6 separate regions of the Homo sapiens genome follow, and all the other regions are linked to region 1. The links are contacts of gene promoters, found by promoter capture Hi-C in blood cells and fetal thymus (Javierre and others, 2016). All regions are on one chromosome and are shown on one strand. Each heading gives the region's core, a stretch centred on a gene start or on the middle of the fragment in contact. The rest is flanking DNA. Distances are from core to core; before and after follow the strand shown. Region 1 holds the start of MAFB (MAF bZIP transcription factor B). Region 2 has its middle 130 kb from the start of LINC01370. Region 3 has its middle 140 kb from the start of LINC01370. Region 4 has its middle 44 kb from the start of LINC01370. Region 5 has its middle 110 kb from the start of LINC01370. Region 6 has its middle 67 kb from the start of LINC01370.

Region 1 (4,824 bases), core at 2,042-4,541:
CATCACCATTTGTAGCTAAAGAATCCCGAGGCGGTGCGTCCCAGAGGCATAGCCTCTGGCCCAACCTGGCGTGGGTAGAGAGGAGGTCACTCTTGGGTAAACACCTTAAATGGGAGTTTTGGCAACAAGCTGTTCACTAGAGGGGCTGTGGCTGCCGCAAAATCCCCGACTTTCCTTCAGTGTGCCTTGGGACTCCGTGCATTTCCTTCAGTGTGCCTTGGGACTCCGTGCACTGCTCGCGTGTCTCCTGGCCTCCCTTTACTTCTCCTCGACCCTTCACTTCTTCCACCGTTCCTTCTTTTACTTTTTTTCTTTGAGCGTGTCGGACTCCCAGTCAATAGGTATACAGCAGCAATCCCTCACCCTCCTCACCTCAACCCTGCCTACGTTTTAGGGATAGGGTGAAGACTGCGGGCACTGCTGTGTATCCATGACGGGGAGCCGAGCCTGGCATGCTGATCCAGAGACCCCAGAGATGAGAAGCGGCATCCCGCGACAGCAGTCGGAAGTTGGAGGCTATAGGGCCTGGGGCTCCAAGTCAGCGCAGCAGTAACCGGGGTGGGGGAGGCCAGGCCACGAAGTGGGGCCGGCTGCGCAGCAGCGGCCTTAACTCCTCGGCCACCTGCATGTCTCCGTCATTCACCCACAGCCTGGCAGGGGTAGGGCTGTTTCCAACATTTTTTTTTGGTGGGGTAGGTTGTGGGGTGTGCAGAGGAGGGAGTGGCTAAGCTGGGAGAGGGGCAGAGAAACGGATTTGGGTGGGGAAGTGAGCCTGGGGATGGACAGAGATACCACAGTCAAAGCCCAGGCGAAGGGAGTGACCACAACAGAGACAGAGGCACAGGGACAAAGAAGAGCGCGGTTGCCCAAAGCCCGAGTCCAAGAGACCCTGAGTCGGAGGCAGGCCGCCCGCAGGAGAAGAGGAGGTTCGGAACCGCAGACCTGGGGCCTCAGGAATCCCCAGGGCCTTAATGGGCCACGGAAGTCTTCGACGGCCAGTGTCAGGCAGAGCCGAGGGGACGTATGGGCGGGGGTGGAGTGGGTCACAGCTTGGCCTGTCCATCTTGGTGCCCGCGCAGAAGTCCACAGTGGCAGAAACACTCTGGGAGCCACAGGTCTCTTAGGACCCTGAGGGAGGGTGCTACCAGCTCTAGTCCAGTCGGGACCAAGAGAGTCAGGCGTGCTTGTCCCGCCCTGGCCGCCTGAGGCCGGAGCCATACATAGTCTGCACAGATCCGAGACACCCGGTCCCGAGTGATCTGGAAACGAGTGTGCTCTCACTGCGTTCAAACAAGACGAGGACATTTACAAGGTGCGAGTCCCCAACCCCCAGCTACTGGCAGGGGCTGCGCAGCGGCACCGCCCAGGCTCTCTCTCCAGGCGGCCGACTCATTTCTGCGGAGAGCACGCTTCTCGAAGAGGGTTGTAGACGCGCTCTTCCAGCATTTAATTTGCCACCCCACAAGATTGAGTTAAGTTTTAGTTAAAATACACTCATTTTATTAAAAATAGGCGGCCCAATACCACGCCGTACCCCAGCCTCTCCGAGGGCGCAAGAGAATAGAGAGTTTTCAGATTAATTGGAGGCAAATATTTTACCTTCTAACATTTAAAAATAATCTAGGCGCGTCTGCACCGGTGTGGCTCACGCGACCCCTACGCGCGAGGTCAGTCGGGCTGGTCCAGCGCAGACAGCGGCCGGGACTCACTCACCCAGTGCGCGCCTCTCCTGCCTTTCGCTGCGCGCGCCCAAAGCTAGAAAGAAGAAGGTGACGCGGGAGGCGGGTCGGGTCTCCGGGTCCAGCGAATTCGCGATCTATCCGGTTTCGGCGCCTGAGCCGAGGTCTCAGAAAGAACCCGTTAATTCTAGCCATCCTGGATCTGGGTAGGGAGGGTGCGCGGCTCCCAAGCCCAGTCTGGATGCCTAGTGCGGTGTGCTTCGGTCTCCCCGTCTGCCCTCCGGGGAGGTTTCTCACCCGGTGGCCCTGGGCCGCTTCACTGTGGCGCTTCCACTTTTGGCTACCGGCCTTCCTCCGCCCAGGACCTTCCGGCCCAGGGAGCAGCCGACGGGCACCCCCGAACGCTGGGGCACGGAATTTCAACGGGGCGACCAGAGCGGAGCTCGCGGCTCGAGGCTCGCGGCTGAGTACGAAGACGGGACCCGAGGACCTGTACATCGCTCGAGGGGAACCTGTCCTGGGCTCTGGTGCACACATAGTATGCGTTCTGGGCTGGCTTGGGTTGGGCCAGGTAGGGGAGACCTGGCTGGGTACGAGGCGCCGTCCAAGCCTTCCGGCCGTGGGCCGGGCGGTCGCGGCGCCTTTGCGCACAGTGGCCACTTGGGGTCGCACTTTATGCCTGTTTGAGCCTCTCCGCGGCGGGCTGACGCCGGGATCTGCTTAATCGTTACAAAACGTTCAAACAAAAACAGGGCCGGCTCCCCAGCAGTGGAGAGCTACTCGGAGCACCGTCCCGGGCCGGCCTCGGCCCCGAGGCTCCGGGGGCTCAGGATTCCGTGCGTGTGGCGGGGAAGAGGAATTCAGAGCCTTTGGGCTGCTGCTTTTCCCGTCGCCTTCACTGTGAACATTGTGCGGTGGGGTGAACGCGGGGAGCGGCGGGGCCAGTGGAGTCGAACCTCAGGGCTCTGCGACTGCACCCGCCAGGAGGGGCCCTCGCTTGGCCTGAGAAAGGTCCCCTGAGGTTAAGAGTTGGGTCTGAACACAACTCTCGGAGCCTCGAGCCCGCCCTCCCCAACATACAAATACGCGCAGATCTCCAGAAACAGGAACGCACGACACACACGGCCAGAAGCCGCGAGGACACACAGAGCGTCGCCCACTGGGCGGGGGCCGCTTGGGAACAAAGGGCCCAGGAGGCGTTGTCCCGGCGCTCATTCTGAGCCTCCTTGGGGGTGACACGGGATGGGGGTGGGGTGCAAAGGGAACTGAGGGAGGAGAGTGCGCGAGGAGGGGAAAGCGGTGATTTGGCCTAGAGGTGGGGCGCGCACTCCAGGCGAGCGTGCGTGGGCCGGGACCTGCAGGGTACGGGGGTGGGCCCAGGCTGGCCGTCCCACTCCGCTCCAGCGCTCCGCCAGGCCTCCGCCGCTCCGGGGCCGCTCGGGCCGCCAGTCAGCTGACGCGGGGGGCGGGGGAGCTGTCAGGCGCGCCCCGCCCTGCGCCGCTGGGCCGCGGAGGCCGTGCAGCTATTGGCCCGCGCACCGGGCCGCCCGGGCCCCCGCACCCCAGTGACATCAGGAGGCGATAAAAGGCTGCGGCGCCGCCGGATCCAGCACAGCTGCACCGCCGAGCTGCGAGCGGCTGCGAGCGAGAGAGCGTAAGAGCAAGAGAGCTAGAGAGCGAGCAACGGGCACTCGCCCCACGCCTCCCCTCAGCCCCACCGCGCGCTCCGCTTGCCTCTCCACCCCGCCCGACTCTACCCGGCCCGGTCCCTGCGCGGGCACAGCCCAGAGCTCTGGGGCGGTGCAGGCAGCCTCGGGACTCTCCGGCGCGCCGCCGCGTCCCCAGACAAAGGCTTGGCCGGCGGCCCCGGCCCGCTGCGCCCTCGCTCCCCGCCTCCCCAGCTCTTCTCCGCTCTTCCCCCCCGCGCTTGGCTCGGCGCGCTCCGGCCGGCCGCAAAGTTTCCCGGGCGGCAGCGGCGGCTGCGCCTCGCTTCAGCGATGGCCGCGGAGCTGAGCATGGGGCCAGAGCTGCCCACCAGCCCGCTGGCCATGGAGTATGTCAACGACTTCGACCTGCTCAAGTTCGACGTGAAGAAGGAGCCACTGGGGCGCGCGGAGCGTCCGGGCAGGCCCTGCACACGCCTGCAGCCAGCCGGCTCGGTGTCCTCCACACCGCTCAGCACTCCGTGTAGCTCCGTGCCCTCGTCGCCCAGCTTCAGCCCGACCGAACAGAAGACACACCTCGAGGATCTGTACTGGATGGCGAGCAACTACCAGCAGATGAACCCCGAGGCGCTCAACCTGACGCCCGAGGACGCGGTGGAAGCGCTCATCGGCTCGCACCCAGTGCCACAGCCGCTGCAAAGCTTCGACAGCTTTCGCGGCGCTCACCACCACCACCATCACCACCACCCTCACCCGCACCACGCGTACCCGGGCGCCGGCGTGGCCCACGACGAGCTGGGCCCGCACGCTCACCCGCACCATCACCATCATCACCAAGCGTCGCCGCCGCCGTCCAGCGCCGCTAGCCCGGCGCAACAGCTGCCCACTAGCCACCCCGGGCCCGGGCCGCACGCGACGGCCTCGGCGACGGCGGCGGGCGGCAACGGCAGCGTGGAGGACCGCTTCTCCGACGACCAGCTCGTGTCCATGTCCGTGCGCGAGCTGAACCGCCACCTGCGGGGCTTCACCAAGGACGAGGTGATCCGCCTGAAGCAGAAGCGGCGGACCCTGAAGAACCGGGGCTACGCCCAGTCTTGCAGGTATAAACGCGTCCAGCAGAAGCACCACCTGGAGAATGAGAAGACGCAGCTCATTCAGCAGGTGGAGCAGCTTAAGCAGGAGGTGTCCCGGCTGGCCCGCGAGAGAGACGCCTACAAGGTCAAGTGCGAGAAACTCGCCAACTCCGGCTTCAGGGAGGCGGGCTCCACCAGCGACAGCCCCTCCTCTCCCGAGTTCTTTCTGTGAGTCGTGGCCGGTCCTGGCCCCCGCCCTTGCCCCGGCCCGGACTCCCTGTCCCACGTCCCTAGTCCCAGACTACCCCGGACCCTGTCCCTGCCGCGGCCCCAGCCTTGACCTGTTTGACTTGAGCGAGAGGGAGGAAGGGCGCGCGGGCCGCGGGCGACGGGCGGGTGCGCGGGCGG
Region 2 (4,703 bases), core at 2,071-4,570, 810 kb after region 1:
TTTTTCTTTTTTTGTTGTTGTTGTTTGTTTGTTTGGTTTTTTGAGACGGAGTCTCCCTCTGTCTCCCAGGCTGGAGTGCAGTGGCATGATCTCAGCTCACTGCAACTTCTGTCTCCTGGGTTCAGGGTTCAAGTGATTCTCCTGCCTCAGCATCCCGAGTAGCTGGGACTACAGGCGCATGCTTTAGGCAGTTTTCTTCTCTATATCTCGTCTTTGTATCCTGAAGATAGTGTGACCTCCAGAAACTCCCCTGTTCCCAAATATAAAGAAATAAAAGCTTAAGAACAGTGAAATAATTTCTCAAGGTCACACACGTAAGTAAGTAAAGGAAATAGAATGTGCACCCTGGTCTTGCTGGTTGCAGACTCTGTGTTTACATTCTCAGCAGTGCAAGGCATAGGGGAGTAGATACATAAGCCTACTGGATGAGAAGTCTTCTCAAAAATGAATAATAAAGGCAGATTTGCTTTATGTTTTTTATTCATATCTTAAAAACTCATGTGAATTTTATATTCTACTTCATAATATTTTGTGTGACTTTTGAAATGAAACTCATATTGAGTTAAACTACCCTGTTTTTATTTTAGTCCCTTTGCCTTTGTAGCATTTCTCTCTTTTTGTTGAGAACTTGGCTTGTTGTCCATTAAGAACTCATGCTTCTTCTCCATAATATAAAATTGTGGTTGGAATATAGCCACCCTAGCAGGAACTAGATTTCCCAGACCTCTTGCATCTAGGTGGGGTAATATGACTAAGTTATACTTCATAGAATATGGGTAGAAGTAATGTATGCCATTTGCAGGCTTGGATTATAAATACCCTTTGGCCCCCCTCTTTCCCCCATCTTCATCTGAGTCCTTGATGCAGATGCCCAAGACAACCTCAAAAGTCATCAATTAAAGTGTTCTCACTTATAAGTGGGAGCTAAATGTTGAGAACACATGGACACATAGAGGGGAACAACACACACTGGGCTGTATTGGAGGATGGAGGGTGGGAGAAGGGAGAGAATCAGGAAAAATAAATAAAAGGTACTAGGCTTAATACCTCGGTGATCCTTGGTGATGAAATCATTTGTACAACATGCCCCCATGACACAAGTTTACCTATATAATAAACCTGCTCATGTACCACTGAACTCAAAAGTTACAATAAAATCATGCAGTAAGGATGGCTGAGCCTCCATCAGTTGAGTCCTTCTCATGAAACAGAATCTCCACCCTCACCATTGCTGCCAACCGGGCTTTATAAGAGCAATATGTAAATGTATATTGTGTTACAGCATTAAGATTTCACCATTCGTGTCTTAGAGCAACTGGCTTTACTTTACTGCACCAGCCCCCAGTTCCAACTTCTTGTCCTTAATTCCAGTCTCTCTTCAGTTCTGACCAGCCTTACCTCTGACTAAGCCCTTAGCTCTGCTCCAAGGGAAAAGAGTAGGGTAGCATTCCTGAATTAGATTCCTATGACTGCTGAAACAAATTACCCCAAACTGGGTGTCTTAAAACAACAGAAATGTATTCCCTCATAGTTCTGGAGGCCAGAGTTCAAGATCAGTTTCACTGGGACAAAATTAAGGTGTTAGCAGGAACACACTGTCCCTGGAGGCTCAGTGAAGAATTCCTTCCCTGCCCCTTCCAGCTTCTGGTGGCTGCATCGCTTAAATTTCTGCCTCCATCTTCACATTGTCTTCATCGCTGAGTTTATCAAATGTCCTTTTTCTCTCTCTTATAAAGACATTTATGATTGAATTTAAGAACCACCTGGATAAAACAGGATATTCTTCCCAGGTCAAGATCCTTAGTCACATATGCAAAGATCCTTTTCCCTAATAAGGGAACACTTAAGGTTGTAAGGATTAGGAACTGATGCCTGTTGGGGCCTGTTGTTCAGCCTACTACACTACCCAAAGTAGCTTGAGTTTAAGACCAGAGCCAAGGACGACGCAGAAAGAAAGAGCTCTTGAAGTCAGGAGGATGGTGAGTCAGAGGATACTAAAATCTTTCACTAACTTCTTTAGTAAAGACAAGAAAACATACATTACACACACATAGTGAGGAGAGAAGTTTGGGAGCTCCAAATAGAGACTCAAACCAAGAAGAGACCCCCACAATTACCTGGCCTGCAAACAGTAGTCCTGAAAAACACCTTGCTGAGGGAAGCTGCAGACTCACCTCTATTTCCTGTCATTTACTCAATTAACACATAGTGTTCCAAACCTACTACAAATCGAACACACTTCTCTGCACTGGGATATTTCAATGGAAAAGATGCAAGCAGAAGTCCCTGTCCTTTTGGTACTTACATTCCAGGCAGGATAGACAGTAAACGACACATTTAATTAGTAGCTAAATCATGTGTAAATAAAAACATTCCTTGTATCCAGTTTCCAAACTCCTGGCATCTCTCCTATTCCCTTGACTCCCCAAAGATTAAAAATAGAAACCAATAAATCACATCTGAGGGTTCTCTCTTCACTTGTTTTGCATTTGGCCTGTGTTTAAAGAAGCTGTTTTTTCTCCTACCAATATTTTCAATTTATTTTTATTTGGGGCAAGTTTTTTTTTTTTTTTTAGCACACAGTAGGTTATTGCATAACTTTCTATTGATTTTTAGGTTAGAGAGAACTGTCTTAGGGCAAAAATGTATTTTGCACTGGACAGCTCCAACTGCACAGCCTTATACTTCAGTATTTATATTTTTGTTCATCTTTCTTTTCATCATTACATTCTCTTGGCCCTCTCTCCCCATTTCTCCCATATAAGTTCATATGGGGCTGTACAGTCAGCAAGAGACAGACACAAGCTGTCATTGCCCTACGGACACCCTGGCTACTCCTGTCTGCCCTGCTCTCAACAAAACCTGATGAAAAGATGTCTCTGCAGTCAAGCGTTTAACCTCCTCACCTCTCCCCTTTGCCCTCTGCCTTGTCTGAACAGCAGTGGGGGAAGGTGGGAGTGAGAGAAGAGATTAAATCAGGTGGTTGAAAGCTAATACCATCTCCCAGCAACTCTCAAAGTCAACCCAGGAATTTAAACTGTAATATTATCCCCTAGGAAAAAGGAGCAAGAAAATGAGAAAGTCATTGTCTTCCTGGGTTTAGGGTTGGGGTGCTCAGGCAAGGCTGATGACAGGGGTGGGACAGCCTGGCCTTAGCTGGGGTGAATCTGGGAGAGGAAAGAAAAGTGGGGCTTCCACAGACATCCATGTGGGAGCAATCCAAATCGTGCCTGCCAAGCCTCCAGGGCTCTGGGGGACATTCAGAAACTCCAAACAAGTGCATGGAAAGATATGCTTTGTTTTCTTTTTGCCCCCGCTGAGAAATGCTGCCCATTGTGTTTCCGTGGGAGGCTTTTGTGGCTAATTTTGAAAAATGAAGTGAACAGGTAAACTGGAGCTAATGGCCTCAACCTCAGGGCAGACATCTGGGGCGATGTTGACTTTGTTGCCAGAGAACCAGCTGGCCTTTGCACTCCACTCCCCCTTCCAGGCCCGCTCCCTGCAGGCCTCCAGGGGGGCTTCAGCTTCTAATGAACCAACTGCACAGTCCCTGACGCTATAGTTGCTGCTGCCCAGACTCTTGTTGAAGCTCCATAAATGTTTGTTTTATGAATAAGCACGCACTTGGCACTCCTCGAAGATAATTCTCCTTTATCCTGAGAGGCAACAGTTTCCCAGCTGCCCTTCTCTTGCCAGGGGAAAAGAGTACCATCATATATACTCGCAGATCCAGGAAGAGACAGACTCGGCAGAACTGGAGACCAAAACATTCCTCATGAGTTTCTCCTAATGACCAAAGTGATGGGAATGAAAGTAACCTCCTATATGCTGGACACTGCTCTGATGAGGTGTCTAGCACATATCCTTACAAGAATCGTGGGACACACTATGTTTTCCATTTATAGATAAGAACAGTGGAGGCTAGTGCATGTAATAGACCTAAAACCACAAAGTCATCTAGTGCTAGATGTAAAGTTAGATATAAACATGAGTCTAATTATTCAGTGCAATGCTTAAGAGCGTTGCTTAGAAGGCTGAATTCCTGGATTCAGTTCAGATTTGCCAATAGCTTGCATTGTAACCATAAAAAAGTTAATTTACCTCTCCAGACCTCATTTTCCTTATGTACTAAACAAGAGGAGTAAAGGTTCCTGCCTCTTGGATGTTGTGATGACACATGAGATAATGGCTGTAGAAGATTTTAAAAGTATCCCACGCAAATAAGTGCTCAAAAGCTATTTGCTGTCGATATTACAATGTCAATGATCCTTCCACACAACTGCAGATTGTTCCTAGAAGGTAAAGAGTTGCCCAATTTCTAATAAATACTAGAGAATACTAAGGTATATGTGGATGTCCCAGCTGGACTGTTGGTCTGATTTAGATGATCATCTTTGGGTAGAACAAAGGGTCCTTCCCCATTCAAAAGCTGCCAGCCCTGAGTGTGAGAGGATGTGGGGTGAGAAGAACTTGCCATTTCTGGGCTGAGGACTGAGGTCTGCCTTCCCCACATTACCCTGGTTATGGTGACATTGATCTTTGGCACCAGAAGGTCCGGTAAGCATCAGCCCTACCAATGACTGGGAGTCTCAAGGACATTCTAGAGTGGAATTCCCCAGTGCCACTTCCCTATCCTTTGCCCTTGTCTGGTTCCATAGACAAAAAAGAGAAAAAGAAGGTTGGCAGGTCCTTCTTCCTGCTAA
Region 3 (4,590 bases), core at 1,436-3,935, 550 kb after region 1:
AAGAGTCAATTCATGTAGCAAATTTCATTGTTTTCAGGAATTGCCACACTCACTCCAACCTTCAGCAACCATCACCCTGATCAGTCAGCAGAGGAGGAGGAGGAGGAGGAGGAGGAGCAGGAGGAGGAGGAGGAGGGAGGAGGAGGAGGAGAATAACAAATGTTGGAGAAAATGTGGAGAAACTGGAACCCATTTGCACTGTTGGTAGGAATGTAAAATTGTGCAGCTGCTATGGAAAAACCATACAGTGGTTCCTCAAACAATTAAAAATAGAATTACCATATGATTCAGAAATTTCAATTCTGGGTATATATCCAAAAGATTTGAAAACAGAGTCTCAAAGATGTATGTGTTCAGCCATGTTCACATGTTCATAGCAGCATTACTCACAATAGCTAAAAGGTAGAAGCAACTCATGTGTCCATCAACAGATGAATGAGAAGCTCAAATTGGTCTACACATGCAGTGGCATATTATTCAACTGAAAAATGAAAGGAAATCCCCCATTTGTGACAAAATGGATGACCCTGGAGGACATTATGCTAAGTGAAATTAGCCAGTCACAGAATGACAAAGACTGTGTGACTTATTCTATGCAGTCATAGAATAGTTAAATTTATAGAGACAGAAAGTGAAATGGGGGTTCTCAGGGGCTGGGGGGAGAGGAAAATGGGAAACTGTCATTTTAACAGGTACAAAGTTTCAGTTTTGCAAGAGGAAAAATGTTCTGGAGCGAGACTGAACAACATTATGAATATACTTAACATTACTGAATTGTGCACTTAAAAAGGGCTAAGATGGTAAGCTTTTATGGTAATCTTTTATGTATATTTTACCACAATTTTTTAAAAGCAAAGTTGATTGCATTACAATTTTTAGAGGAAAACTAATAGATTGATTTAGTTCCTCTCCGCTTTTTCTACTTTGAACAGGCTCCCTCTGAGACCATGGATCAGGCAGTATGGAGGGGTATAGAGGGGGCCGAGGCACTTAGGATGGTCACCTGCACTGGAGAAAACAGACGGGAATAGTTTTCCCCCATCAGACTTTCTATAGACAGACAGACTGTCCTGTCAGCCTCATGGAGTACAGTAATTGCTCCCACTCAGCGGGTGGTGCTCCCCCAGGAGATTGGCCAAGGAGTCATTGTGGGATCTGTCATGTCCTATAGCCCTGCACTGGGGCTGTACAAGTGTCCTCTCCTGCTTAAGTTATTTATATAGGTGGCTGAAAACGCTTTGCTTGTACAAACTAGAAACTATTAGATTAGGCCAGCAGAGACAGCCAGAGGCAATCTTTTAACAAAGTGAGTGGGATTCAAAGTAGGCATGGAAAGCAAATATTATTTCACTGGGAGTTGATTAGAGGGAGCTCTGCGGATGAGCAGTAACTGCTTTGTTAATTTAGCTGGGGGAGGTGAGTAGGGCCAGGTAGGCACCAGCTGGGTTGGAAGGTGAGCAGCCTGGGTCGAGATGGTAATTCAGGGGTAGGTCAATGCATCAGGCACCCCTCCACACACACTCCCCCTCCTCCTTATTTAAAGTACATGATGGAGCTTAGCAGCTGAGAAGCCTGGTTTGCTCTAAAATTTCGCATTTTAATTCAGGCAAACACTCTATAAATCCAATGTATCGGAAAGCAAACATTGAGGCTAAGTAAGAAGGTCCATTAGATGGAGTGCTTAGTTATAGGGCCTGAGCGTGTAAGGGGGTGGACGGGGAGGCACAGAAGGAGAGGCTGAGCTGCAATGCAAGTGTAGAATGTGGGTACTGAAAAAGAGGATCTGAGGAAGGTGGGCCCTGCGAAGGGTTTGAGGCAGAGTGGAGAGAAAAGGGAGATTTGGGGATTACAGAGGGTAGGTCAGTTTTGAAAAGGCTGGGTTAGGAGACACTTGGAACTTCTAGTGAAAAGAGAATTGAAAATGAGGCTTCAGATGAAGTTTGGTAATTGGGGCTTGGGAGAGAGGGTCTCTGACAGAATGAGGGAGGGCCAGAAGAAGACATTAATTTGCAAACTTCTGGGTACATAGTATTACTGGCTACCTTGTCAGTCAAATTGTAAGGAGTGAAGGCCAGGGATAGATTTGGGAATTTGGATGATGGCTCATTTACACTGTTTTGCAGTAGGGCTAATGGGAATTTTATGAAGATGTCAAACTTATCCAAAGGTGGCCGAATTGCCACCAAAAATCCTGGGCATCAGAGAGTCCAAAATAAAAATGGTACTCAGGAGCTCCTGGGTGTTCTGTCTCCCAAGGATGCCCACAGGAAAGAAGAGGGTCTTCACCCATGGAGGTGGTGTGCATGGTAGTTAAGGCTGTGGGTTCTGGAATGCGAACAATGTGGATTCAAGTTCCACCTTGATCATGTACTAGCTGGGTGACCTTGGAAAAGTCAATTACCCTCTTTGAGTCCAGTTTATTAACCTATAGAATGGGAATAATTATACTTCCTTGGAGGTAATGGTAATACCTCCTTCAAATGAAGACAGAATGTGATAATGCAGATAAGTTTAGCATGATGGCTGGCACAAAGAGAGTGATAGATTAAACATATATATTTTAAAATTGATGTTATGAGAATAATTCTCAAAAACAATGGCTCCAAATCACCCACAGGTGTTCTCTGTATTTGGGAGCAAAAGTTCTAAAGGAAGGTGAGGACTGTCCACAGTGTGGCTGGGCTGGAAATATGGACTTCCATGGTTTTTCCCCTTTTCACAGTAGTTCTGGGAATCTTTGATCATAAAGTCTTCATGGTTATTTGTTATTCAATGTTTTTCAAATGACTTTTACAAAAAGGGAAATAGCCAGGTATAATGACCAGCCACTGGAGTCTCCCTTGGATCCTATTAAGTCAGCACTTTTGCTTCTCAGTAAAGTTAAAGATTCGTTAAGGTGATCTTCTCAACATCCCCTTCCAACTTTAAGGTTTTTGGAAGAGATATTGGAAGTGTATTAAATCATTAGCACAAGAGAATGAGAAACACAACTGATAATGGCAATAACCACCATTTACTTAGCCCTTTTCATGTGTCAGGCTGATAATTAACTCTTTTACAAGGCTGTCCTCAGTTAGGGATCATCACAGCCCTTTAAGGTAGGGACTATTTTTATTACTGTACAATGGAAAAAGAAACTGAGCCCAATGGAAGATCATGCTTGGCTTAGGAGTATATATCTGCTATGTGGCAGGGCTGAGATTTGAATATGTTCAACCAAATCTGAAGTCAGATTTCTTGATATTAACCACTCCATGAACCTGATGACTGCCATCCTCAAACTTCATAATTAGAGGCCAAAATGTAGACAAATCACAAGAGCCTTTATTGTTAGGTGAGAGCCTGGTTTCTTAGGAAAAGATGATAATTAATCTCCTGTGATAAAGGGAAAGGCAGATTTGATTTTTGCCCAAAATGAAGTTGTCCTAATTGTTACTGATATACAGTAACAATTTGGACCCTTAATCAATGATGTTAGCAGTTTTCAATGTTAATTTAATTAGTACAAGATCACCTGCTGGTAGAAATATTGGATAATTAGTGTCTTATGTAATGGCTTATGAAGTACCCTGTAAAAGAACTCCAATAATCACAAATTCTCAGTAGAACTTTTATCAAAGCACAATATTTAAGTGGTTAAATCCTTGATTGGATGCCAGTCTGATAAAACTTTGGTTAGGGCATCAAAATTACCATTCCTATTGCATTGCTCTGGTTTCTAAAAGATAAAAGGTGGAAGAGTCATATATCTGGTTCTTCTAGAAAAACATTTCCAGGGGCGACCTTGGAAACGTAGAGATTTTTTTCAGAGGTGATGCTCGAATGACAGTGAAGATCTAAGGATAATTCACTCAGATTCCAGCTCCAGAGGAAATATAGAACCCATATCATTTGGTCTTGGATAACTCTATGGGGAGAAATTTTGCATGGAGAAACTTTCAGGTAAATTCTGATAAGCATACAGCCAATATAACTAAGAGGGGTCTGGGTAGCTCCCAGTGTATGAATGAGTAGGATTGATTTACAGAGTATGTTTCAGGTCTTAGAGAGAACGGCTTGAGTTGTTCTGGTGACAAGGGTTGATAGTCGTTGCAGAGAATGTCAAAGTAGGAATATAAAATAATTCCTGGGCCATGTTTTGTGGGCCACACATAATTCCTAAGCAAATAGGTAAAGACACATTATGAAGCCTGATTATACTGGTCACAGGTAAAGTCCCTGCCTACACAAACACCTGATAAAGCATGTGCCACCTTAGACTCTGGTGTAGGTAAAGGAAATGACCTTAAACTAGGCCATCTAAGCCAAATGAGCTTCAATTTTTAGAGACCAGAGACTATGAGAGAAAGAAAATACTGCATGTGTGTTGGCCAGCATGATGCTTCCCTCCTTACCCTGTGGATTCAGAGTTCAGAGAGGCTTGGCTTTGGATACTCTAGAGCCTGTTATGAGGTATATTATACCAAAAATTTAGAACCCCAATATTCTATTGGAATTATATGCTATAGCTGTGCCCTAGGGTTGGCTTATATAAATGCCTTCCTGTGTTAGAAAGCTAAAGCTTGAAGATAGGCATTTCAGATTCAATGA
Region 4 (4,574 bases), core at 144-2,643, 640 kb after region 1:
CAATGACAGATTGAAGTTGGTAGAAAAATAGCTCAGCTACCTCACCCTTTTGATAACATCTCTGTACTGTAACCATCAACAGATATCCCTCATGAGGTTGAGCCCTAGTTACTCAACTAGGATAATGAGCAGTAATGGACTCAATTGTGCATCCCGTACTGTCTTATTTCCTTTCTTTTCTCATTTCCTTGCTGTGCTTTCTGAGATCATCTCCCAAATAAGCTACTCACCTTCACATCCTTCACTCAATGTTTATTCTAGGGAAACCACCTTGAGGCTCTGCCTGTCTCAACTTGTTGTGGGCATCAAAGAGCAGTTAGAGGCTATTGATATATTAGAGGTAAACTACCTTCCTGAGATTAAATAGTTGAATATGGTAAAGCCTTCTTCAGAATAGAAATATCGTACTATTGTAAGATTATCAGCATACATATTATGTGTGCAAAGAAGGCAACATGCTTATTTATTAGCAATTAAAGGTCCTAGATATTATATTTAGATAGATGTATACAAAGGCAGATAATGTATTATTTATTTACATATAATCATTATTTTTTCTTAATGAATGTGTGTCAGTTATTTTTAAAGATGCAATAAAAAACAATAATTAAGTCAATGGAAGCCATTGGTTAGCAATTTGAAGGATAGAATCTGAGTCCTACTCAGAACTATATATCATAAAGTATTGGCAATTGCAATAGGTGAGCTGTAAATGTAGTTATTCCTAAGCTTCCTAGAGAAGAAAACACTAAAGAAAACAAGCTTTCTTAAAAGCCGACAAAATTAGGAACATAGTTGTATATGGTTTTATAATTATATGCTTTATATTTATTATTGTGTATTATTTACAATCATCTCAGTTACTTAGATTTCTGGCTCAATTTTTGGTGCCCTTCAAAATATCTGTATTGTTACATTTTTGACTTCCTTATTTAGGGTCAGTTCCTCCTCTTTCTCCACTGGGTAAACAAAGATTTCCCCAATTTTAGGACTTATTTTGTTTGTTTCCATAGTTACTGAGCATGTACACATATATACACTTACCACATGCACACAAATACTCAATGACTTTTGATAATTTTGAGATAAATATCTTGCATGTAGTTTTTCATCTACCACATTCAAAAATAAATATTTTATTCTTAAAACATGAAAAAAATTTATTGTTTTAGACAAAGAGGCCACTTTTGGAAAATAATACTTTTTTTTAGTTGAATCAGGTGAAGACAGAGTTAAAATCACATAGGATTTGCATTTTTAAAAAAGGAAAGCACTAGGATTGTTGGCCCTGGAGTAACTATTTACACTGAACAGAGGTTTGGCTTTTTACATAACATCAATACAATGCATTTTCCAAAGTCTGAGAAATAACAAGGTTCTGTCTCGAATGCTTCACAGAGGAGGTTCAGATTTTGGGACAAGTGTAACCACCCAGGGTCGGATTGCATGTGACTCTGAAGCTGATGAACTTCCATGGCCCTCATTAAAAATGAATATTTTTAAGAGTATAGTTTCTTTAAACACATTCTGATTATTTTAAAAAATGGTTTACTTCTTCCTTTAACAATGCCAGATCTTTGGTTTGAGTAGTCATTATTAAGGCAGGTTCTGGGGAGATGTATCAATCATCAAAGTTAGAAAATTGTAGAGTAGGTCTGTTCTAAAAACTAATAATTGGTGTCTTCTAAATTAATAAATTATTCTTAGTTCAAACAACTCTATGCCCAAAGGACAAACCAAATATGAATTTCAATAACTAGTGAATATAAGGATCAGAAATCTTTTGCAATATCTTCTGGGAATGAATATTTTTTGTCAAATTTAATGTGTTCTCTCTTGTTAAAATCTAAAGTTTAAGATGTAAGCTCTCAAAATAATCTAAGATAGGAGTTTTCAAACTTGAATTGGGCATGCAGATAGATTATCTTATCCCTGGGATAAGATAACTCAGGTATTTTCTATGGATGTCTACCTCACACGAGGAAGAGCTGATTTGTCTTCAATGTAGTGTGAATTAAGCTTGAAGAGGTCAACTGAACAGACATTTTAGAACAAGCATGCAAGTCCTCAGCCAGGTATCAATCAGGCATCTCATTCTCAGAACCTATGTTCCTCCATGAGTTCATCAGATCGTTTCCCCCTCCACTGCACCCAAGGACCACAGATAGCACTCAGTTTCAAATAGTTAAACAAGTAACATCAAATCTTTCTAGCCAAATCAACATTGAACTGACAATGTATAAAATCAAATCCTCCCAATCTACGAAGTTTGAGAATCTTGGATTACAATAACTACAGAAGTGAAAACTTTTCATTTGTATACTAATGACATGAGTCTTTAGTAATATTTTCCCATGCTTTCTGGCATATTTTCTGCTTACTCTTGTGCTATGGTTTGAGTGTTTGTGCCTTCCAAAACTCATGTTGAAATTTAATTGCCATTGTAACAGTGTTAAGAGGCGGGACCTTTAACAGGTGATCAGGCCATGAGGACTCAACCTTCACAAATGAATTAAGGCTGTTATCAAAGCAGTGGGTTCTTTACAAAAGGGTGGGTTTGGTTCCCTTTTCTGTCTCTCTCTAACCCTCTATTTGCCTTTCCACCACGTGATCCCCCTGCAACGTAATGACGCAACAAAAAGGCCCTTGCCAGATGTCAGCACCTCAATATTGGAGTTCTCAGTTTCCAGAACTGTGAGCCAATACATTTCTGTTCACTATCAATTAATCAGTCTGTGGTATTCTGTTATAGCAGCACAAAATCGACTAAGACACCTTGGGAATAAATTTACTGATATAAGATCAAAGCTTGTTTGCTATTTGGAAAAAAAGAAGAAAATAAAAATTCTGGATGCAGAAAGAATGCCAAGAAATATAGTTAAAATGTGAATAAATGCATATATTTCTTCAAGCTCCCTAAATACAATGCTAGTTGCAAAACAGTCCCTGGGAAATAATCTTGATTTTTTCAGAATAAATGGTGACTTCTGTTGGTAGTGAGTTCAGTGAGATGAACTTTAATTTCTCTTTCAAATTTGTAATCCTTTGATTGTTCAAGCAGTGTGTTTCTTTGGAGAAGGCTGAGGAAGTGGTGTGGACTACAGTTTACTTAACAAATACATTTTTACAAGAGAAATAATTTGGAGAATCCAGTTTCCTAGACTCAATGATACATAATTGTTTACATTAGCTACATCAGAGAATTTCCTCAAATCACCATGTCTATATAGAGAGTTGTTATTTTTCTCTTAAGGAGAAAAGTTCAACTGAGGGTTTTAGTCACAACTAGAACAAACTATTTGGGTATGAGTCCAGCTATTTCTAACTGACCTTATTTGAGCCCAAAATATATCATTTTATACGTTTTTCAAAAAAAAGTGAATCAGAAAGGAGACAGGACTTATCATTTGGAAGAAATCAAATACTTATCAGATGATTCCTCCAAACAATGGTAGCCCTGCCTTCCTTAGCACTCATTTGATTCTTCAAAAATGTGTTAGCTCCATAACATGTACCTTCTTTGTGACAGTTAGTTAGGATTTTAGAAATGCCTATTGTCAAGAAAAATTAAGGTTACCTAAGGATACAGCAGTTGATTGGAATGGATATCCAACAGAAAATGACTACTGAGGGAAGAGGACCCTTAATATCACAGGTTTGCTGGTGACTGCAGGAAAACTATCCATGCAGTGACTTATAAGATGGGCCTGACTTGCAGACTGCACAAGTTACTTCCACAATGGTTAGTGACTCTTTGGTAAAATCTGGGCAGTTAGCACCCTACTGCTGCTGATATTTCAATTAATAAAGTAGTTAAAATTGAACTAGTATGGCAAGGAGGTACAAGCCCATTGTATTTTATTTATTTAATAATAGGGGCTCATTTATTAAGTTCTAATGGCCAAATGGCAAGGACAGTATGGCCTCACCCTTTGGTCCCAAGTTAGTATATTCATAATTACCCAAGACTCAGAAGTTTGGTGTTCACTCCAGTGGTGAAAATAATGAAAATATGAAAAAGTACTCTTCTTGGAGTCAGCCTCACTACTTGACCACAGCAGCAGGATTCCAAATGCTTACGAGAGCAGCAGCATTCCAAATGCTTGAAGAACTAATTTAGGTTTCTGAGGTTTCTGGAAGCCTTCATGAGACATCCACCATGATGACCTCACCTGTCTATCTGGAATGGAACCTGCAGGGTTCTAATACACTGTTTCTTTATTCTCAGATACAGGGAGAGCCTCAGATTGGCCGGTACTTCATCTCAGGTATGAATAGACAGTACATTTTTATAAAAGGCATGCTTACTTTAAAGCAACATGAAAATCTTTTTACCAATGCCTGCACATCCTGTGTATAAAACTTGCAATCTCAACCATGTTTGAATTCCCCAGAAACCATAAGAGAAATAGTAAATGAAATGTCGTAAGTATAAGGAGGCTGTAAGCTATAGCTTAAACAATAAATACCTTTCAATTGCTACAGCCGTAAGTACACTGTAGAATCATTTGAGAGCCTTTGACAAAATATCATTGCCCAGGCCCACATCTGACTTATCTTGTATTTTTGCCTTT
Region 5 (4,368 bases), core at 1,456-3,955, 800 kb after region 1:
TGTTATTAAAAACAGCAAACTATATCATAGTTATTTATCCATAATAGAATATATAACTACAAATAAATGAACTCTTGTACTGTTTTGTATCTTTTTTTTTCAACCCAAGATTCTACTCTATGTGATATTAACACTGACACATCCGTTGTTCTTATTTACATTTTCCTGATGCATATTTTCCAGATATATTATGTTTAAACTTTCTGAGACACTTTTTAAAAATTGTTCCTTTGAAGAGGTGCATCTTTGTTTTTAACCTGAACTGATGGTTCCTAAATATTAAAGGGTGGCATTATAATTTACATTTAATGTCATAAGAGACACATTTGCACTTCCTTCTATGATCTTATTTTATGTTTTCTGGATTTTATGCTTTCCTACCATTTCCCCTATTTCCTGTCATTAGCTAGATGAACTCTGCTTTGATTTCTTTAATCTCCTGCAGTAATTTGGGAGGAATCATCCTGTTTTTTATTTCTACTAAATTTTGCAAAATAATGTACTTGATCCAATATTTCTCTAATTATCAAGGTCAAAAAGAAACAATAGCTTTTGACTCAGTCCTATTTTAGTTGAGAAACTTAGCACATTTTATTTATTTATTTTTTTACTTCTTTTTTCACTTCCCAGTATTTCATAGTGCAATATGTGGTCTTGGACAACTGTTATTGTTTCCCACAGTATTTTACATTTTGGGTTATATTTATTTTAAAATTTAGAAAATCCTCCCTCTCATTTCTTTTAGAAGCATTCTTGGCCTTGTTCTTATTAATTTCTACTTTAATTGTTTTTGTTCAGTGTTCTTTTCCTTTGTTTTTGCAGGGTTCTCTTATGTGGATTGTCCCTCCAAGGCTGGTGTCCTGGGAACTCTGTTTTATGTCCTTGTTACCTCTCACTCCCTTTAGTCTCTTGGGTGCCCTCATAGATGCTCATGTGTGCGGCCATCACCCCTGTGCTTGTGTCTATTGGATCTCTATCCTCAAATCAGATTCTCTCTTGACTGCACCATTAGTATAACCAACTGCCTACTGGATAATATCTTTAATATCTCAGAGACACACACAGAACTTCGACAGAAATATTTACAGAAATACGGATGTCTAGCGTTATTGTGCTACCTCTCTAAGTTGGGGAATAGGTGTGAAGAACTAAACAATATTGAGGACCTATGGTATGCTATGGTATATTCATACATCACACCACTCCATTCTCATTTTGACACCCTCTGGTATAAAGACGTAGGTGCGTGCTCAATTCTAAAAGTGGACAAACTGAACGTCAGGAAGGTTAAGAAACGTATCCAAGACTTGGTTTGGGTTCTAAAACCCCTGATCTTCTATTTCTTCCACATTAAAACTTTGCTTTATCATTTCTCCTGATTTCCTTGACCTCTGCAGCTTGATTTCCTTTCTTTAAGAGCAGATCTTAGTCTTTCCATTTGGACTCATCTTTCTGGGTCATCCACTCCTTCCTAAGGGTATTTCTAGGTTTGATTCCACATGTAGAAAGGATGAAGAAGGAAGAGTTTCATTGCCTGCAATTGGCCAGGAGACCAAGTCCACTCTGCGGTGGGACTAGGGGCTGTTCTAGATCCTCAATTCCTCTGTTGTCAGGTCCTGGATCTTAAGGGGAATGGATGGGACCAACCATGGGAAGGGCATCCTATAGGCTTCTAAGAAATTAATTAGCATTCATAACTATTTTTCTTCCACTCTTTCCCACTTTACCTCAGAAGATGGGTGGGACTAGAATAGTACAGAGTTCTGCAAAACTGAACTACTGTGTTTGAAGTGCCATGTGGAAGCTTCTGGTTTGGTTTGGGTTCAGATGGATTCTTCCACTGGTCCTGTTTGTCCCCAGCTAGGTTTCTTTTCTGTGATATTTCAGGCCAACCTAAGATAGCACATCATTGAAATCATCAAGCTAAAGGATCTCTCAAGCTTCCATGTAAAGCAAATGTTAAGAATAGATCTTTCGTCTACCTATATTTTGGGTGGTACAAAATGCCTACATTCCTGAAGTCCTGCTTCTGCAGACCAAGGCCAACAGATTGTTCTTTGAATGTCTCAAAAGCTCTTTTTTTCTTATAATGCCAAATGCAATATTTTTTTGAAAATTCTACACCAGAAGTTTCCCAGCTGAGAAAACAGGCTTGTGAAAAATGGTTTCAGAAAATGTAATAAACCATGCAAAAGTTGTTCAGGATGCGTTTGAAATGAACATCTGGATATGAGTGCAAAATTACTCCTTTCCCCTCTTCCTCTTTCTCACAGCTGTTTGAAAGACTCCTGAGGGCAGGGAAGCAGGTCAATGAACTAAATTGCACCTTCCCCCCTCTTCCAAATCCTTTTGCACCTATGCAAGGAATCTAGCTCACATATGTGTTTAATAAGTGAGCACAAATACAAGAAAAAAAATTATCTCGATTCCTGTTGACTCTCTGCAGCAACTCCAAAGGAAAATAAACTCTGGATTTTAAATTTTTTCAAACAAAACTTATGGTTCTAATAAAATGTTGCTTTAAAGTTGACTTCTTTATATCAAGAACTGAACAAACCACCCATTTCTCTTTATTTCTTAAAAATGAAGGATTATTACATCACACTTTCCCCAAATGGAAGAAAATCCAGTTACCAAGGCTTTGCCTTTTAACTTATAATTGAGAAACATAAATGATTCTCTATGTTTTTACTGAATTTATCATTGCATCTGTTTATTACAAGTCCCTTCCGTAACTACTACTACAATACATACATCTAAAGATGGCATCAACTAGTTAAGTAGATCAGAAAGGAACACGTTGACATTTAATAGATCTTCATGAGATTATCAGTGTTCACAACAAATGCAGCAAATATGAAATAATTACCTCATATCAGAAGAATGTTTAGAGAAGTCTTTGGGGGGACCAGACAGATGTTTTCACATGAAAAGAGGCTGACTCATCAACCCTGTGCTGTCAGAGGCCAAAGTGGGCCTGAGGAAAAGAGGAGATTCACTACTTAACACAGTAGCTTTTGTCATTTGTTTCAAGCACTTGTCTCCTCTACTGGTCTCTGGGATTTTCTATGGTAGGGGAGGAGCCTTAGTCATCCCTGGATCCTTGTGCTGTACTGTCAACAGTACACAGTACATTGCATGTGTTCATTTGTTGAGCAAATGACTTGCTGAATAACTGGAAGCAATTCCTCATATAGATTTTCCAATTACTAGAAAAACTCCCTTATGAAAAAATGGCCAAACACTTGCAAAACATGTTTGAGGACTACAGAGGGCGTATTTCTTAGATTATGTGGAATCCAAGGCCCTCCCATCTTTTTGGTGTCTGAAATTCCTGTCCACATGCCAGAATTATCTCTCAGCAATCTTTCTTCCTCATATCCCTCATGTATGTTTACAGACATACCCTGGTTCTTACTAGGATCATTGTAGAAACAGTCTTTGAACTTGACCTCTGCTTCAAAGCTTCTTCTATCTAATCTATCCAGTTCTTTTCAGCTGGTTTTATTTTTATTTTTTTGAGACAGAGTCTCATGCTGTCACCCAGGCTGGATGCAGTGGTGCAATCTCAGCTTACTGAAACCTCTTCCTCTAGGGTTCAAGTCATTCTCATTCCTCAGCCACCTGAGTAGCTGGGATTACAGGCATGCACCACAATGGCCAGCTAATTCTTATATTTTTAGTAGAGACACGGTTTCACCAAGTTGGCCAGGCTGGTCTCGAACTCCTGGCCTCAAGTGATCCACCTGCCTCTGCCTCCCAAAGTTCTGGAATTACAGGTGTGAACCACCGTGCCTGGCCTTATTTTGTCTAACTGAGTTCCTACACAGTGCCAAGCACTGTGCACAGCAGTGAATACATACTAGGGTGCTATTGAACTGTATGGTAGAGATCACCTGCCCAGAATAGCAAAGTAGGCTTTCTGGGAGAAGCAAATTAGAAGGAAAACAACAATGAACCAGATGAAGAAAGCATCAAGGAAAAGGGTATTTGAGTATGAAGGAAAATTATTAATGGTATCTGATATAGTTTAGACATTTGTCCCCTCCAAATCTCATGTTCAAATATAATCCCCAGTGTTGGAGGTGGGGCCTAGTGGGAGGTGTTTGGATAATGTGGGTGGATCCCTCATGAATGGCTTGGTGCCCTCCTCTGAGGTAATGATGAGCTCTTGACTTTTTAAAAGAGTGTGGCACCCCTCCTCCTCTCTTTCCTTCTCTCTCACTGTGTGACACGCTGACTCCCCTTCCTCTTCCACCGTGATTGGAAACTCCCTGAAGACCTCACCAGAAGCAAATTCTAGTGCCATGCTTCTTCTAGAGCTGCAGAATCATGAGCCAAATAAATCTCTTTTTTAGTAAATTACCC
Region 6 (4,302 bases), core at 739-3,238, 750 kb after region 1:
TAAACATTTACTCTGTGTTGGTGATGAGGAGACCAGAGTTAAGACAGAGTTCCTGCTGTCTTAGAGCATATTATCCAAAAGGGAAGACAGAATTATTGTCAAATACACAATGAATAACATATATATCCCATTGGAATGAGAGTTATACAGAGAAGTTAAATGAGGTAGTGTGTTAGAGAGTGAGGTTAGATTGTGTCAGGAAAGGCCTCTTGGAAAAGTGGATGTTGTGGCCATGATCTCATGCTGAGAAGAAACCAGCAATATGAAGAGCAGAACAAAATACATTCTAGGTCAGGGAGCTGCTCACACAAAAGCTATGAGGCTGACTCAACCAAGCATGTGTGAGACCCTGAAGGAAATTCAGTGGTAAGCAGCATATTGGCCAAGACAGATAGTGAGACACAAGGTCACAGAGATAGAAAGGGTCAGGAACTGTAGGGCTTCCAAAGCTTAACTAAGGAATCTGATTTTTGTTCTATGCCTAATTGGAAACCACTGGCAGATTTAAGCCTGAGCACGGTATGATCTGTTTAATGTTTCAGTGAGATGTCTATGTCTGGGTACAGAATTGTAAGAGGAGCAGGAACCAGAGTGGGCGTTAAGAGGGCTTTTGCTGCAGCTATGAGACAGGAAGGACAGCTTGGGGGTGGTCTGCAGAATTTAGAGATGTGTGGCAGTGGGCAAATTATGGAGAAGCAGAAGATAGAATGGGGAGATGGGCATGTCACATATGTAGTAGTGGAAACCATGAGCCCTCATTCATCCTTTCATTTTTTCAACAACAACAAAAAATGTATTGAGCACTTGCTTTGTGATGCACCTGGAGTGCAAATATCAGTAACTTAAAATCCCTGACCCTAAGGAACCCAAAGTCCTGGTGGGGAAGACTGGGATATAAACATAATTAAAATACATTTTAATAAATACTGCAATCAAGGGGTATACACGGGGGCTAGGAGAGCCCAAAGTAAAGACTGATTAACTCTGTTTTAAAATTAAATAATGTCAGCCTTTTGACAGACATTATTTTTATTGAATTCTATCCATTGGCCTACTGAGTTGGATTAATGTAAAGAAAACTCAATAAAATTTATGTCAGTCAAATGTTTGAGTTCATGTTCTGGACATAAATTATTTGATAACTCTGGACTACTCACTTTTATTTTCTCCCCATTTATCAAACACTTTAAGTCATTACTACCTTCAACTTTGGACCCAGGAACAGATTGTGATAGTCACATCCTAGCCTCACCATCTCAGTGACTTCTGGGGGTAAAGTAGTGAGTTTGTGGGAGCCAGCTAGGGATAGGTTGCTGATTCTCTAGGGCCCATTGATGATAAGAAAGAGGTTTCACTATTTCCACTTTCTTTCCATTATATTTTATTGGATATAAAGTATATTATTACATACAGACAAAATCATTTTAGGTATGCAGTTTTATGAATTTTAGAAAATATAGAAACATTTTACCGTCATTGATATCAAGATACAAAACATTAATATCAAACCCCCAAAATGTACCCCTTCTTCAACCCCTGGAAGCCTCTGATCTGTTTTCCTTCCTATCATTTTTGCCTTTTGCAGAATGTCATCTAAATAGAATTATGTGATATGAAACTATTTGAGTGTACTTCTTTCACTCAGCCTCAAGCATTTGAGATTCATCCAGCTGTTATTCATGTTAGTAGTTCGTTTTCTTTATTGCTGAATAGTATTCCATTGCATGGACTTGGTACAGCTTGTTTATCAGTTCTGCAGTTGAAAGATGTCGGGGTTGTTTCTAATTTTTGAAAATTATGGATGAAGCCACTGTAACAGGAATGGGAGATTTTTTGTTTAGTTAGTTTTTGATAAACGTAAGTTTTCATTTCTCTTAGGTAAATATCTAGGAGACAAATTGCTGGGTCATACAGTAAGTGTATGTTAACTTCTTAAGAAACTGTCATACTGTTTGACAAAATGGCTGTGTGATTTTGCATTTCTGCCAGCAATTCACAAGAGTCCCAGGTGCTCTGCAAAAGTGCTAGCACTAGTGTCAGAGTTTTTTCATTTCAGCTATTTTAGTGGGTATCTCATTGTGGTTTTAATTTGCATTTTCCTAATAAACTAGTGGTGCTGAGCGGCTCTTCATGTCCTCCTTCCATATACCATCGTCATATAAATGTTCCTCTTTGTTATTCAAATACCAATATGTGTTCAACCTACCCTTTGCAGTACTAGAGATGCAAAAATAATTAAGCCCCAGTGTCTGACCTCAGGAAGTTCCAGTCTAGTAATGCAGATAAATGTATTACAAATGTGAATGTAATGTGAGTGGTTCTGTGGAAATTCCCTGTAAGGTAAGATTATAACCTTTTAGGACAATTGGAAAAATCCTCAAAAATTTTGTGGGGTCTTTAGAATTTAATTTTGAGAGGCAGACTGGGATAGCAGTCCCTGGAGAGGGGATCCCCAGGGAGAGATAGGAATTAAACTTCGATGGCAGAGATGGTGAAGACACTGACCATACTGGAAGAAAAGGGTAGTACAAAGATGTGAAGAACAAAGATGGATTAATAAAAATTGCACAGAACAGAACAGAGATCCATGTTAGTCAGGGAGGCTGCCTGTAGGTTGGTAGGAGATGATGGTAAAAATATGGGTGGATCAGAAGGAAGAACGCTGAGGAGACTTAAATGAACATACAGTTGATCCAACGTTATCTGCTGAGCATGAGGAGAGATGAGGCATGATTCAGGCTTGAATGAAACAGATGAGAAGTGGGCTGAGACTGTCTTTTCTGACTACATTTTCCTCCACAGTCTTGTTCTCCTGCCCTGACTTCACAGCCCAGAGCATCCTGATGGGCCCCAGCCCTTAGCAAAGGATGAAACAGTTTAGTTTCCCCCAGACCTGGGATCCTTCTATCCTCTTCTGGATCTTGTGCTTCTGCCAGCATGCCATGCTCCATGCTGGTGGCAGTCAATTGGACAATATGCATCCTCTTTCCACAACCATCGACACATGGCCATGTTTGTCTTCAGTGGGCTGCCAGCTCAGAAGACCCTAAATATGGAAGGTTTATGGGGCACCTCCCAACACCTTCTTCACTGGAACAATCATGATATGGGACCAGAACGGGATGAGGGCAGGAACCTGCCTCAGAATGCTCAGTCCCCCAAGCAGAGTGCAGCCTATAGGCTGTAAAATGGCCCTGTTGTTCACAGAATCTCAGTTCCATATTGAAAAGACAAAAGGACGATGCAGCGGAAAAAGTCCAGAGAGTGGTGGTGCAGTAACTGCTTTCACCAAGAGCAAGAGTCAGGCAGAAAAGTGAGGCACGAATACTGCAGCTGTCAGATGCCTGAGCTGTGGGATCAGATCACTCAACACAACCATGAGGTTGCCCAAACTCACTGCAGATGGCTTCCAGTTGTTTCTAGGAACCACGCTCTGTGACAGCAATGGGTAACAAGACAGAATAACTTACGGTCTCAGGAGAAAGGTACAATTTGGATTTGTAGCTGATTCTGAAACATGAAGCTTTTGCACTGTCTTAGGTATAAACACCATGTATAAGATATAACTATTACTAGCTAATAATTACTGAGTCCTTTCTATGTGTCAGTCACTCCATTAAGCTTTTTATTTTCATTAAATATTTTATTTGACCTTTGAAAGAGCCATTCAAGTAAAACTTATTTCTCCATTTTAAAGATGTGAAAACTAAGCCTTAAGGAGGCCAAATAACTTGTTCATGGTCAGAACTAGAAAGTGACAGAACTGGCATGCACATCTAGAAGGAAAATCAATTAGAGAAAATGCATTCCTGATCTCTTGTGAGTCGTCTCCTTGTGATGGAGAACAGGCGCCTCTGAGACACTGTACGGATTTCCTCATATTGAAATGAGATTACAGTGACATTTCAGAATTAAGTGATGAATCATGTTGGGCTCGAGAATACTTTGAGCAACAATTGCTACTTTCTTTACACCCTGGCTAACTGAAAAATAATAGAAAGTCAGTTATTTTTATAGACAATTGATTTTTATGCTTATATACCAATATAAACCAAGAAGCTCTAATAAATAACCAAATAAACAAACACGCACTTCTAGAACTAACAAGGTACAATGGTAATGCATGTTTTGTACATTCTGTGTACATATATAAAGAAACATCCACAGCTTCCTTAAGTATCTAATTGCAAAAAAACAGCTATAAATGGGAATGGGGGAGAATGCCCTACTCACACAAGCAACAAAATTCCTTACTAATTAGGAATAAATTGAAAAATGAAGGTACTTGACTCACTAATAAAA

What was found. Contacts are between HindIII fragments. The CHiCAGO score rates a contact against its expected background, and 5 or more counts as called.
Region 2: a contact is called between a fragment that was not itself captured here and the fragment with the promoter of MAFB in region 1, in 3 of 17 cell types (M0 macrophages, M2 macrophages and M1 macrophages). The highest score is 8.9, in M0 macrophages.
Region 3: a fragment that was not itself captured here is called in contact with the fragment with the promoter of MAFB in region 1 in 1 of 17 cell types (M1 macrophages); the score reaches 5.3 in M1 macrophages.
Region 4: a fragment that was not itself captured here is called in contact with the fragment with the promoter of MAFB in region 1 in 1 of 17 cell types (M1 macrophages); the score reaches 6.5 in M1 macrophages.
Region 5: a fragment that was not itself captured here is called in contact with the fragment with the promoter of MAFB in region 1 in 4 of 17 cell types (M0 macrophages, M1 macrophages, endothelial precursors and 1 more); the score reaches 18.1 in M0 macrophages.
Region 6: a contact is called between a fragment that was not itself captured here and the fragment with the promoter of MAFB in region 1, in 1 of 17 cell types (M0 macrophages). The highest score is 8.1, in M0 macrophages.

The regions. Positions count from the first base shown.
Region 1 is chr20:40,687,703-40,692,526 of GRCh38, reverse strand. It overlaps MAFB (MAF bZIP transcription factor B), which reads left to right and starts at 3,291. Exons shown (of 1, transcript NM_005461.5): 1 at 3,291-4,824. The coding sequence starts at 3,677. The coding sequence ends at 4,648. RefSeq lists enhancers at 1,125-2,100, 2,101-3,078 and silencers at 3,029-3,338, 3,359-3,428. The HindIII fragment of the contact is 7,144 bases long and covers 1-4,046 here.
Region 2 is chr20:39,876,213-39,880,915 of GRCh38, reverse strand. No RefSeq gene overlaps it. Among named protein-coding and RNA genes, the nearest start is that of LINC01370, 130 kb to the left of the region's middle. The HindIII fragment of the contact is 6,081 bases long and covers 280-4,703 here.
Region 3 is chr20:40,141,650-40,146,239 of GRCh38, reverse strand. No RefSeq gene overlaps it. Among named protein-coding and RNA genes, the nearest start is that of LINC01370, 140 kb to the right of the region's middle. The HindIII fragment of the contact is 3,756 bases long and covers 808-4,563 here.
Region 4 is chr20:40,046,468-40,051,041 of GRCh38, reverse strand. No RefSeq gene overlaps it. Among named protein-coding and RNA genes, the nearest start is that of LINC01370, 44 kb to the right of the region's middle. The HindIII fragment of the contact is 1,257 bases long and covers 765-2,021 here.
Region 5 is chr20:39,892,160-39,896,527 of GRCh38, reverse strand. No RefSeq gene overlaps it. Among named protein-coding and RNA genes, the nearest start is that of LINC01370, 110 kb to the left of the region's middle. The HindIII fragment of the contact is 1,525 bases long and covers 1,943-3,467 here.
Region 6 is chr20:39,935,657-39,939,958 of GRCh38, reverse strand. No RefSeq gene overlaps it. Among named protein-coding and RNA genes, the nearest start is that of LINC01370, 67 kb to the left of the region's middle. The HindIII fragment of the contact is 3,074 bases long and covers 452-3,525 here.